2 separate regions of the Homo sapiens genome follow, and region 1 is linked to region 2. Evidence: promoter capture Hi-C in human tissues and cell types (Jung and others, 2019). All regions are on one chromosome and are shown on one strand. The core of a region is centred on a gene start or on the middle of the fragment in contact, and the rest is flanking DNA. Distances in the headings are between cores, read along the strand shown.

Region 1 (7,127 bases), core at 3,473-5,972, 1.7 Mb before region 2:
AATGTCTGTATATTATGATGTTTTGACATCTTAAGCCTTTCTGGCTGGGGAAAGAATGCATGTCTTTGATATGCAAAGTAACCAATCTAGAGCCAAGCCTCCTTTGTCTGGCCTGTATATCACAGGAGGTAATATTTCTCTGCCTTAATCATTCCAGAGCCAAGTGTCAGGAAACTCAGAACCACCCCTAAAGCCCAAAGCTCACCAAAGTTATTCCAACTGGCTAAACCTAAACTGTTCACTCTGCTCTGCCTTGCCTTTCCCACGGAAATGCCAATAAAGGCAATGGCCTAAACCTTTCCCTGGCTCCTGCCGTCTGCCTCCTGACCATTCCTCCTGACCACGGTGTGTTTCCCATGTGGCTCCTGCAGGGCGTGCCTCTTGTCTCTAAGACCTGTACTTACAATATATATTTTTTTCTTTGAGCCTCTTCTGTGTCTCCTGTTGTGGCCACATCTGACTGATTATCACATAAAATAATACGCAACATGGGAGAGGAATTCTGAAGGGGGAAAAGTGAAGTGGGTATTTTACAACAAAAGACGACAAACTGCATCTATGGAGAGGAAAAAAAGCAAAGCCTCTCTGTTGCTGCCTAGCTTCTTCTACCTGGGCTTGTGGGCTGGGTTGGCACGGAGCTGGCTGCAGAGGCACAGCATCTATCTCATGACCAGAGCATCTAGCTGCCCCTGTTGCACACATGAGGGGTCATGTTGAGATTATGGCTTCCAGTCACTCCTGCACCTTCTGCAGGCTAGGGAGCCAGGTCAGCGGAAGCCACCACTTTCCAGTCATTACCAGTTAATCTTTCAACCTCTTGTGACTAAGCTCATAGAGGGCAGAAACCATACTTTACTCATCCTTGTAACCCATCACCCTGCACAGGAACTAGCACACAGAAAATGCTCAGCAACACTCAACAGGCTAGGCAAGGAAGCTCATGCCTGTAATCCCAGCACTTTGGGAGGCCGAGGCTGGTGGATCACTTGAAGTCAGGAGTTCAAGACCAGCCTGGCCAACATGGTGAAACCCTGTCTCTACTAAAAATACAAAAATTAGCCAGACGAGGTGGTGGGCACCTGTAGTCCCAGCTACTTGAGAGACTGAGGCAGGAGAATTGCTTGAACCCAGGAGGCAGAGATGGCAGTGAGCTGAGATCACGCCACTGCACTCCAGCCTGGCAACAGAATGAGACTCTGTCCCCCACCCGAAAAAAAAAAAAGACCGAACCCCCCAATGTTTAGTGAGCACTTTCTTGGTGTGAAGTTCTGGGCTTACACTTGAAATGCACTATCCCATTTCATCCTCACAAAGAGTCCCTGAGGTGCATGCAGCATCACATAGAGGACATGCACATCGCCTAGGGTCACACACCTGGTAAGTGACAGAGCCAATATTTCAATCAGGAGTGGCTGACTCCTGAGGCTCAGCTCCTAAACACCTGCAATGCTGAATAGAAAGCACCGAGAAGCATTCTACAACTTCCTCGAGCATCAGGAGACTGCTCTTTAGAAGTCCAGGGCAGCTAGATCTGGAGTTGATGTGGACTGTAGGACCTGTGTTTCCATGGTTGCAGGTCTGCCAAGATTTCTGAGTAAGATAAAGCACAGAGATGAGAGCCTGAGCTTTTTTGTCAAATGATAAATCCTGAGATAGTTACATTTGTATTCACTAGCCTCTTTTCCAAAAGGTTCAAAGAGAGCTCGATGTCCAGCAGCAAGAAAACACACACATAAAGCAACAACAGCTGAATAGATCAGGCGCCCCGAGTTCACTACATTTTGGGGGGATCATCCCTCAGGTTCAAGCTTTCTCTTCTGTAAAATGAGGAGATTGTGATTCTCACTGTGATTCTCCATCTGTGGACTGACAACAAATAATATTTTAAAACACAATTTCCAGGTTTCCGCGCTGCAGCGTTTTTATTTCAGCAGGTTTTCGGCAAAGCCTAGGAGTTTGTATTTTTAAAGCTCATTGAGTGATTCTAATGCTCAGCCTAGTTTGGGAACCACTGGTCTGGGTGATCTCCTTGGTTGCTTCCTGACTGGATTACCCATTTTGGGGATTAAATCCCCGAGTTCTATCAGATGAGTACAGGGGTACTATAGAATGTTTAAGAAATGTTAAACTGAGTCTGGGGATGGGGACCAGAAAAAGTATCTGGAGAATGTGACAATACTAATTTACCTGATGAACGATAAGAAAGACAGTGCCTTTTTATAATGAACATCTTTTGATTTTGCAGGCCCAGCATTCGTTTTCCTACTGTTGAAAAAAAATGTCTTGATATTCCTCTGAGATATCACTCCATTCCCATCTCTTAATCCCTGTGTTTTGAGTGGGTTTGAAGCCATGGTGCTGGTGACCTCAAGGGCTATCTCTGCTTGGCTGCCCAGTGTAGGCATGGGACCCAAGCTAGGCCAATAGGACTCAAACCCAGAGTTTTTGATGGCTTGGTTGTAAAGCTAGGACTTTTTAATCTTGGAGCTGCTGGCAGCCCTCTTCCGTCATTGCAGGGAAGAAGCCTATGTACAATAGGGAAAAATGAGGCCAACACATAGAACACAGACAGTGTAAATCAACCTCTAAAAGCACAATCTGTCAGGTTTTAAATAGTGATGCATTTTATTACACCTAGATTGAATTTTGTCAGTGACCGATACCATGTACATATTTAACAGAAGGCTGCCAGAATATGATAAGGTATTTGTAATGTCAAAGAAGAAAAAGAAGACTAATATCTTTTAGAATAAGCAAGAAAGTCCTGTAAATCAAGAAGAAAAAGATTGCAAATGAGTACATGATCTGAATAGAAAATTTACAGAAAAGGAAACTCCAAAAGTTAACAAACCCAGAAATGAGCTGCTCAAAATCATGATGATCAAGAAAAGTTCAAATTAAAACAATTAAATATTACTTTATACCCATTAAACTGGCAGAAATTAGGAAGCTGGATATCGCCAAAGGTTGGAGGGAATGTGGAAATACAGGACCCTCCATGTATTGCTGGTGTGACTGTGCACCACTGTAGCTTTTTTGCAAGGAACTAGGCCCAAATTGGTCAAATTAGCTCTACATAAGCCACAAACCCAGTAACCTACCAGTGCTGTTGCAGGTTCTACATACCAGTGGATTTCTCTCAGGTTCACAAAAGGGCATGTGTAAGGTTCATAGAAATATTGTCTGTGGTAGCAGGGAGCTAGAGGTACCCATCACTAGGAGAAGGAGTGAGGAAAATGTGGTAGATCCACACCATTGATTATTATGTAGCAGTCATAATCAAGAAAAAATATATTATACAAACAAAGTGAGAAAAGGAGAAAACAGAATAAGGTCTATAGCCAAGTACCACTTGCACAAATTAAAAATACATGTACACAAAACAATTTATATTTTGAAAAGACATATCCAATAAAAGTCTATACATATTAAAAATATTAAAATGGATGCCCCCAAAGGATCCTTAGTTCTATGGGTGTTAAAAAAAAAAAAAAAGAAATCAAACAAATATTGGACAAGTGCAATAATGGGAAGACAAAATAAAAAACCCAGGTGCTAAGAGAAAGAATAATAAGAGAAATTTACTTTGCACAGGTTGGTCAGGAGGGGCTTCTCTGAGATCTCTGGTATTTCAGCTTCAACGTGACCGTGGACTAGCATCTGAGTGAATAGTTCTGGGAAAGCAGCTGCGTAGAAGAAAAGCCAAGAGAAAAGCTTGGAGGAGGGTAAGAGTTGGATAATTAGGGAACTAAAAGAAGTCAGAGGATGGTGACCCAAGAAGGCAAAGTCTCTCTTCTTGAGAGTTTCTGCGTTGGGGGATGGTGTGGGTGAAGCTGGGAAATCAAAATCATCACAAACAGTGTACAGGTTTGGAGCTGTGGGAGGACTTTTTAGCACAAGCAGGCAGCAGACTTTCCCCTGATAGCACTGTGTTAATACTACATAATTAGCCTGAGCTGTAAAATCCATTCTCTTTAGTCTGCACAGTCATTACATGGAGGAAGGAAGACACTTTTCAGGTAAACCTCCTTTCAGTATTGCAGCAACCAGAGTGCATTTGGAAGAAATAAGTCTGTGATTGTAATGGGAGGTCTCCATGTGGAATTAACACAAAACCTGCCTGTGAGGTACTGCTTTGAACTCTTCACTAGTCCTTAGTCTGAAGTCATGGAGGCTGTGGCTGCGTGGTATATGGGTAAGAACTTTGGGATCTGAAGGCCTTGTCCTATTCATGGTGTCAACCTCTGTCTGGTGCCTGATATTCTAGTCAGTAGATGCACAATTATATCTATGGGATGGATATAAATAAATATTTTACTTACTTTAAAAACAGAAGTTTGAATGAAAAGGTCATGATACAGTATGACTGGTTACACCCCTGCTATCACACACACATACACACACACACACACGCCAAAGCCATAAAGAAAAGACTAGAAGTAAGTGGAGGAAACATACAGAAATGTTGACAGTGATTTTGTATATATATTATATGGAGGATCTATGGGAAAACTTAACTTATATTTTAAAATTTTGAATATTCCATATTTTCTAGTAGATTATGCATATAATCTAATATAGATTTCTGTAATTTTTAATTTTCTGTTTTTTGATGTGATTTTCTATAACATAATTTTTTTAATAGAAATAAATAATTTAGTATAGGAAGAAAAAATGTTGTTAAAAATACCCTGTCTCCTCCTCTTAGGGGATGAACCATATTCACATATTTTTGATGGCTAATGGTCATACATATATATGTAAGATTAGATAGATAGATAATAAAAAAGAAAGAAAGGAGAAAGAAAGAAAGAGAGAGAGAAAGAAAGAAAGGAAGGAGGAAAGAAAGAAAGGAAGGAGGAAAGAAAGAAAAAGAAAAAGAAAGAAAGAGAGAAAGAAAGAAAGAAAGAAAGAAAGAAAGAAAGAAAGAAAGAAAGAAAGAAAGAAAGAAAGAGAGAGAGAAAGAGAGAAAGAAAAGAAAAGAAATCCGGTATTTGGATATGCAAGGATAGACCTGAAGCATAGTCTAAGGGGGAGCTGAAAGCTGTAATTTTTGTGCCTGAGTAAACAACAAGAAATGTGGGTCTGCACCTGCATCTGGAGAGATGGAGAGCCTAGGAGACAGATGGGCCTGAGCAAAGTAATGACAGGCAGAATCCAAGAAAACATGGCCATGGAGAAATTTCCCATGATGGGGTTGCTGTAAATTATTGAGAATAGCAATGTCTGGCTTTCCGTGTTAATTTCTGGCAAGGAAACATCTTCTTATGGGCCAGGCCATATGCTTGGAGCTGGGGTTACAACGTTAAAAAGAGAGACAAGATCTCTGTTTTCCAGGATTTTGTGTTCTCGGGAGGGGGAGAATAATAATAGTAATATTTATAATATTTATAATATGTATATAGCATTAAATATGCACCAAGCACTGTTCTCAGTGCTTTATATGTATTAACTCCTTTAATCCTCACAACAACCTCACAACAATGAGCTCTTCATTTCACAGATGCAAAACTAAAGCACAAAAAAAATTAACTAGCCTAAGACCCTTTAGCTAGTAAATGGTGAGGTTGAGATTAGAACTCATGTAGTCTGCCTCTAGGATTAGTAAATAAATGTAGTTATAGGCTGTAGTGAATGGCAGGAAAGGTATTTGCCGAGTATTTTGTTGGCAAATAACTAGGCAGGATCCACTTTTGAAAGATTGGTCCTAGAAGCCCTTTAAAGTGGCATTTAAAGGGAAACCTAAATGATGAAAATGAGACATGTCTAAGCTGAGGTGAATACTTTTCTATTATCCCCATACACAGCAAGTTGACTAGCTTTGGGGTTAATGGGGCTTTGGAAAATGAAGGAAGAAGGTGGTGGCAAAATGGTTCTCAAAAAGGGTGACCAAAGGAGCTAAGGCAGGGGGTGGAGATGACACTGACCAGGACTAGATATAACACATGCTCAATTTTCTCCAAAACACAGTAGGAGAAAATGATTCTCAAATCAGAAGACCCAGGATGGTATTTACACGGACAATACAGAAAAAGGCAAACCAGGCAGTAGACACTAGGGTTACACATCAGAGACAGGAGCTGACTGCAAAAGGGAAGTTGTAATCTCTTCCTCTCCACCCTCTTCAAAGTACCTTTTGCATAATATCCTTAAGGCCGTTTCCTAAGAGGCATTATTACAAGATGGCATGATATAAAGTGCTACCAAATTAACCACGTTTCACAGTGTTCCAAATCTATGCCCACAATATACAACGAGATTTTTTAAAAGCAAGAAAATGAGCCTATTTTTAACAGAGGGATATGAATGGTAATGCTGCCCATTCATGAATGACCATTGCTAAGTGGAAAATTATTCTAACATATTTTATTATTCAAAAATCATCAGGACTAAATAGCTGGTAAGATGAAGCTTTGGCTGTCCAAATAAGACTCATTCCAAACTATTGCCTTAAACTTTGGTACTGCTGAAAAGACTTTTGGTAGATTTGATATGTTTGCAGATGCATCTCCTTTGGTGCCATCCCTGCTGCTTCTGAAGAGCCCCTACACTTGGTGAGCAAAACCTGTTGAAAATTTCTGCTGATTCCTGCCACTAGGAAGATTTTCTTAGAGAGCCAAAGGGCTTTCCCTCATGTGCTGCAGAGATCTTCATGCCTCTTCTGCCATTCCTTCTGCCCTCCCTTTGAACATTCACAGTTTCTTGGTGGCCTGGATTAGACGTACCACTGAGACTATATGCTTTCAGTTAAAAAATATTTTCTTTAATCTTTGCAGTAATTCATTTTGCTATAAAACAAATTACCCCAAACTCAGTGGCTTAACAAAACCCAACCATCTATCTCAGAGTTTTTGTAGGTCAGGAATTTGGAAGTGGCCCAGCTGAGTGGTACTGGTGCAGGGTCTTTCAGCAGATTGCATTCAAGATGTTGGCTGGGGCTGCAGTTATCTGAAAGCTTGACTGTGGCTGGAGGGTCAACAGCTAAGGTAGCTCACTCACATGGCTCCTTATCATGTGGGCCTCTCTACAGGGCTTCTTGAGTATCCTCATGAGCAATCCCTGAGAGAGTAAGGCAGAAGCCATAATGTCTTTTAGGATCTAGCCTCAGAAGTCACACAATTTCCATA
Region 2 (6,754 bases), core at 1,786-4,285:
CAGTAAATGGGTAGGACTGAACATCAAGCTCAGGTTTGACAGGTATCAAAGTCCTTGTTTTTTAAAAAGATATATATATATATTATCATGGTAATCTGTACATAACATAGAATTTACCATTTTAACCCTTTCTAAGTGTACAACTCAGTGACATTAAGTGCATTCACATTACTGTGCAGCCATGACCACCATTCATCTCCAGAACGTTTTCTTCTTCCCAAATTGAAACTCTGTATCCATTAAACAATGACTCTTCTTCTCCCCTGCCCCCAGCCCCTGCCAACCACCATTCTACTTGCTGTCTGTATGATTTTGACTACTCTAGGTACCTCAAATAAGTGCAATCATACAGTATTTGTGTTTTTGTGACTGGCTTATTTCATTTAGTATAACGTCTTCAAGGGTCAACCACATTGTGCATGTGTCAAAATGGCCTTCCTTTTCAAGACTGAATAATATTGTGTTGTATGTACATACCGCATCTTGTTTATCCATTCATCAGTCTATGGACATTTGGGTTCTTTCCACCTTTAGGCAATTGAGAATAATGCTGCTATGAACAATGTTGTACATATATCTGTTTGAGTTCAGAGCCCTTGCTTTGAATTATTGCACTTAATTGCTACCCAATGTGGTCTCATAGCCAATATTTACTAGGAAGTGTTTTACATTTGGATTCGTTATTGAAAAGTCATGACATTAGCTCTCATTTTCTTCTTTTTCATAAATACCACATTGACAAATGATTCCAGGGTGTGCAGCTACATGAATCCATCCTGGTCACTCTCATGCTCAGAATCTGGCTATGATTGGGATGGGGCACTTGATCAGGAAACAAAGAAAACAGAGATAATGAGGCCAAGCAGGAATCAGACCTTCAACATGGCCTCTAAAACACATAGAGTACTGTGTTTTAACCAACTGAGCCATGCTGCCATGAAGACTCATTTACCTAGATTTATAAATTCTATAGTCCTAGCTACCAGAGAGGCTGAGGCAGGAGGATCCCTTGAGCCCAGGAGTTTGAGATTGCTGTGAGTTATGATCATACCACTGCACTCCAGCCTGGTTGACAGATGAGACCCTGTCTCTAAAAAAGAAAAAAAAAATTATACATTTTCATAAATGCTAAATTTAGCACATGACTTATGAAGATCAAGCAACCCAAAATTTATCTACTGTGGCCTTGCATAAGGTTTGCATGAACTGTGACTTTGTAAATTCTAAATCTACAAATAAGACATAGTTAAAAAGAAATAGTATAAGTACAAGACTAGCCAAGTGCCTAGGACCTAATAAGCACTCAACAAATGGTAGCTATTATTATTATGTAATAATATGGTTCTCTAAAAAAAGGAACATGCCCTAAAGCAAAACATTTGTAGCATCAGAAGATCTGGATTCTTATTCTGACTCTGTACCCAATGACCCTGTAGTATCAGATGGATCCCTTAACAACTTGGCACTCAATTTTTCTCTTCTGCAAAATGGGAATGACCATACTTTGGCCTTTCTCCCCAAGGTTATAGTAAAGACCCAATGCCATAGATATAGACAGAGATAGTACATGATGACACTTTGTACTGCATACGTCACCCCATTAAGATAAGAGGTCATTCATTTCAGCCCCTTTTAATATCAAAAACAAGCCTAGTGTTATCTTCGGTAATTGTGAACATGCCCATAATTATACTTTTACCAATGCCAGTAAAGCCAGTAATACATTTGTCTGCAATAGATGTGTTATCTATTCCCTTAGGAAACTAACAATAAAAATAATTCAAGAGTAATTATCTGGCTTTCACACTTTAAAGATGAGAACACATCCTGGTGTGCTATTCATTAATAACGTGGATACATTATATAATTGTATTTTATCTTTTTTAAGAAGTCATTCATGGTCCCACTGACAGCATATATACATCTCCTATGAATTTTTGGATACCAGTGTATGTTTTCCAGGTTCTACCTTAAAAGAAAATCATGTATGGACTTTTGATTATCCATGGTACTGGGAAGTAATTGAAATTCATAGATTAAACACATTCTTCAATCGAACCATTAGCTCAAACTTCTTCCTCACATAACATATCCTCTGGCTGATTTGCGTTTCACCATCCCTTCCCAGGACTCCAACTACCCAGAGCTTATGCTAAGGAGCAATGGAAAGGAAAAATAAATAGACAAAGCAGGCAGTATGAGGAAGGCAATAGGGGTAAAAAACAAGACATGGATAAACTGCAAGCTGAGTAATTGGCTGGAGTAAAATGAGCACTTTCAAATACTCAGCTCTTTCAGGAAACAAAATGACTGCATAATTGTCTAAAACCGCAGTCTGACAACCTGAAAACCACTGCACCTCTATTTAATTTACATTCCAGGAAAACTCAGTCAAAGATCCAATTACAATGTATTACCTTGGATGGAATTTGAATACTATATATGCTCATTGCACTTTCCAATTAGTAGTCAACAAGCATGTTATTTTTACCCCAGAAATATTCGTCTAATAACAACTTCCCATTTGGTGCACCAACAGTTCTGGTTGGTACCGGAGGGGGAGCAAGACACAAATCTGAACCATTTAGGAGTTTCTCTAAACACGTTTTAGGAAGCCCTACCCTTAAAGCCTATATGCCATGCACAATACCAACCTTATGGTCATTCGCCTTGTAATCGTTGAACCGAGGCTGGCCGCCTGCCAAGGTGTAGGCATTACCCTCTCTAAACACACTGATCCTCTGAGCAGTCAGCTTAGGGGAGCACATCTGGGGCCTGGGGACTTCCCCAGACCCATAAACACCATCCATTGTTTCAAGAGACTCTTGCAGAAAACTGTGAGGGTATTCCTCCTTTGGTGACTCTAATTCCTGCCCATCCTCAAAGACCTGCTTCAATACTCGACCGCTGTAGGAGGAGGAGATTTTAAATCGTACTTTCCGGGGTTTGCCATCACTCTTCTGATTCAGCTTTTTCTCAGGGTCCTCCATCAGCAGAAAGTTGACCCTGTGGTCTCCAGCCTTCCGTGCAGCCGGTGAAACTTGGGCCTCTGAGAAAAAGGCATTTTATTTTCTCTCCTCCTGCATATAATTAATTCAAGTTGTTGCTGGGGTATGGTCAGTTTACAGCAACTGACACCCATACATTAAATATTGATAGACCCTCATGAAAAGGCAGGTGATTCTGGTTTGATGGAGTGGATGGAATATAAGACAAGATTGATTCTTCTCATAATCCCAAGCTCACCATGACTTCACCCCAACCCTAACCTTTCTTAACCTGAGGATGAAGAAGTTTATTTAGACTGAACATGTGCCAATTCAATAAGGATCAGACACTCAATTAGTTAACAAGTGTCTTCTTATTGTTAGCAATGACAATTAAAATCTAGTGAGCATTTCATAAGTACCAGAGATTGTTACATGCATTATTTTATTTCATCCTCACGATAACCCTACAAAGAAAATCTTACCTTTGTTTTACACAGGGGAAAGTGAGGCTTAGAGCCACTTGTCATTTATCTTCATCATTTGTCTGCTCTATTACACCTAAGTAAGTGACAGAGCAGGGATTTGAACCCAGATCTATCTGACTCCAAAACCCAAGATCAGCCCACACAACCAGAAGTTTTCCAGTTCTGGTTCTAGAAGAGGGAATGACGTCCTAGATACAGTGGAGGTTCTTGGAGGCTGCTGCTAAGAACAGGAGAAGGCCGAGGGTCCTGGATTCTGGGCCTTCTCCCCCTACGCTAACCAGAGCACCTCCACTTGGTATGTATTTTACATTTAAGATTTCATTTGCAATCACAGCACAAGTCCCCATTGCCTGTTGGACTTCGTAAATGCCTGACACTGAACTAGTGGCTGGAGTGAATAGCACAGAAGCATGTGACCTGGGCCTGAGAACAGTCCTACAATCCCATACAGACCTCACACAGGTGAAATAATAACCTCATGCTTAGAGAGCAAACTGCCCACAGCTGAATCCCAGAATAGCCACTCTGGGAAGGAAGTGGTCTCTAAGGAGACAAGGATGGAAGAAGGTTTGTAAAGAAAAGGGCCCTTGGGCTGGGTAGAAAATGGTAGGTTGGATGTGAGGAGCTGAAAGTGGAGTAAAGCCTTTCTCCCTGTCTTTGCTACCAGCATCACCATTTACTGAGTTACCCAAATTGACCCCTCCTATTCCCCTACAGCCATTCGCTTGGATTCTTTTTTTTTATTATTTTATTTTATTTTTTTTTTTTTGAGACGGAGTCTCACTCTGTTGCCAGGCTGGAGTGCAGTGGTACGATCTCGGCTCACTGCAACCTCCACCTCCTGAGTTCGAGCAATTCTCATGCCTCAGCCTCCCGAGTAGCTGGGACTACAGGCACACGCCACCATGCCCAGCTAATTTTTGTATTTTTAGTAGAGATGGAGTTTCACCATGTTGGCCAGGATGGTCTCAATCTCTTGACCTCGTGATCCGCCTGCCTTGACCTCCCAAAGTGCTGGGACTACAGGCATGAGCCACCGCACCCAGCCCATTCACATGGATTCTTTCACCACTGCCTTCTTTCATCTACCCCTATCACCCTGGCCCTAGGGCAAACCCTCATCACTTTGATTTTTAAAGTTGCAGCTGTCTCCCAAGGACTTCCCTACTCACCCCCAATTCCATTCTCCATATTGATGTGAGAGCAATAGTCCAAAACAACAAATCCACAGGTGTCAGTCTCTTGCTGAAAAATCTTTTCTAGTGCATCAGGGCTTAAGTCTTAACTGTTCCATGTGACAAGCAAAGCCCCTCAAAAACCAGCCTCACCTTCCTTCCTTTCCAGCCTTGCCCTCTGTCACTCTTCCAGGGGCTGCCTGGGATTGGTGTTCCAGTTACACCAACAAGCTTACCCATTTCTCAAACCCACAAGTTTCTGTCTCTTATCCAGTACTCTGTCTCCTGATTTAGAGTGTCAAATTTCCATTCCTCCTTCAAGTCACACCTCAAATGTCACTGCTTCTGGGCAGCCTTCCCACCTTCCCCAGGGAGAGTGCCATGGGACTTTCGGACCTACCGCCATTCAGATGCTTCTCACTTTCCCTTGCCCTTCCTATTTTTCCCTCCATTCAACTGTGAACATCTTGCAGTCAGAAGTTGTCCTTACTATCTGTCTATTCCCAGTGTTTATCAAAGTGCCCAGTACATAATAGAACTCAGTAATTGTTAAATGAATGACTTCAAGTGAGAGAAACCAAATACACAAAGCTTTTCAAAAAGGAATTGAGCATATTTTGTATAGAATAGTGAAGAGGTGGCTGGGCGCGGTGGCTCACGCCTGTAATCCCAGCACTTTGGAAGGGCCGAGGCAGGTGGATCACGAGGTCAAGAGATTAAGACCATCCTGGCCAACATAGTGAAACCTCATCTCTACCAAAAATACAAAAATTAGCAGGGTGTGGTGGCAGGCACTTATAGTCCCAGCTACTCGGGAGGCTAGAGCAGGAGAATCACTTGAAGCCAGGAGGCAGAGGTTGCAGTGAGCCAGGATTGCACCACTGCACTCCAGCCTGGTGACAGAGCGAGACTCCATCAAAAAAAAATAAATAAAGAATAGTGAAGAGGTAGGATCAGAAGATTTTTTTTTTAATCTACCTTTCTACTAAGGAGAGGTGTCACAGTTGTAAATTCCCTGTGTAACTGGTACAGAAATAGGTGGGAGAGAAGAACTAGGGAAACAATGTTTAAAGAAAAAGAAAGATACACTTTTCATAACATTGTAACTCCCCCAGGATGCAGAGTTGTCTGGGACACACCATCAATGAATCACAGGAGACTGAGACCTTGAACTCTCAGCCCTCATGGCAGCCAGGTGTCCCCCAGGACTACATTAGCCTTATTCATTTACTTCACTGTATAGAACAATATCAAGCTGGGCATGGTGGCCCACATCTGTAATCCCAGCTACTCAGGAGGCTGAGGCAGGAGGGTTGCTTGAGCCAAAGAGTTTGAGACCAGCCTGGGCAACAAAATGAGACTTTGTCTCTACAAAAAGTTTTTTAAAAATTATCTGGGCATGGTGGTGCTTGTCTGTAGTCCCAGCTACTCAGGAGGCTGAGGCAAGAGGATTGCTTGAGCCCAGGAGTTTGAGGCTAAAGCCAGCTACAATTATGCCACTGCACTCCAGCCTGGTTGACAAAGTGAGACCCTATCTCTTAAAAAATTGTATGTGTGTGTGTGTATATATATATATATATATATATATACACACACACACACATACCCACACACACAAACACACACATATAAATGTAACAATTATTATTTTCCTTTTTTTTTTTTTGAGACAGGGTCTTGCTCTGTCGCCCAGGTTGGAGTGCAGGGGTGCAACCTTAGCTCACTGCAACCTCTGCCTCCTGGGCTCAAGCAATCCTCCCTCCTCAGCCTCCTGAGTAGCTGAGACCAAGGCATGCAACAATTATTATTTTCTATGTGTGCCATGCCATGAAAAAGATTGGGAACTCCTAACTAGAAGAATATTTTCTTCTATCTCTCCCAGGAAACAAATATTAATAAATAACCAATAGCCTATCTTCATCTAGAAAAACCAGTGAGCTGACTTCCACAACTACTTGTCAAGTAAACATTTTCAATTGCCCCAAAATGAATGTCAGTAACAACAACAAAAACAAAGCTGGAGGTGAGTTTTCCAAGTAACATTTCTTCAACACTTTTTTATGCCATTTCCCATGTTCACAGACAGATTTTCAGTGAGCCAACC

What was found. The method cuts DNA at HindIII sites, captures the fragments that hold promoters and counts their contacts. A contact is called where the count stands out against the background at its distance.
Region 1: a contact is called between a fragment that was not itself captured here and the fragment with the promoter of GRXCR2 in region 2, in 1 of the 25 tissues and cell types used here (spleen).

Annotation. Positions count from the first base shown.
Region 1 is chr5:144,125,354-144,132,480 of GRCh38, forward strand. No RefSeq gene overlaps it. Among named protein-coding and RNA genes, the nearest start is that of YIPF5, 42 kb to the right of the region's middle. RefSeq lists an enhancer at 1-314. The HindIII fragment of the contact is 3,922 bases long and covers 2,762-6,683 here.
Region 2 is chr5:145,869,979-145,876,732 of GRCh38, forward strand. It overlaps GRXCR2 (glutaredoxin and cysteine rich domain containing 2), which reads right to left and starts at 3,036. Exons shown (of 3, transcript NM_001080516.2): 1 at 2,655-3,036. The coding sequence starts at 2,990. The HindIII fragment of the contact is 8,071 bases long and covers 1-5,061 here.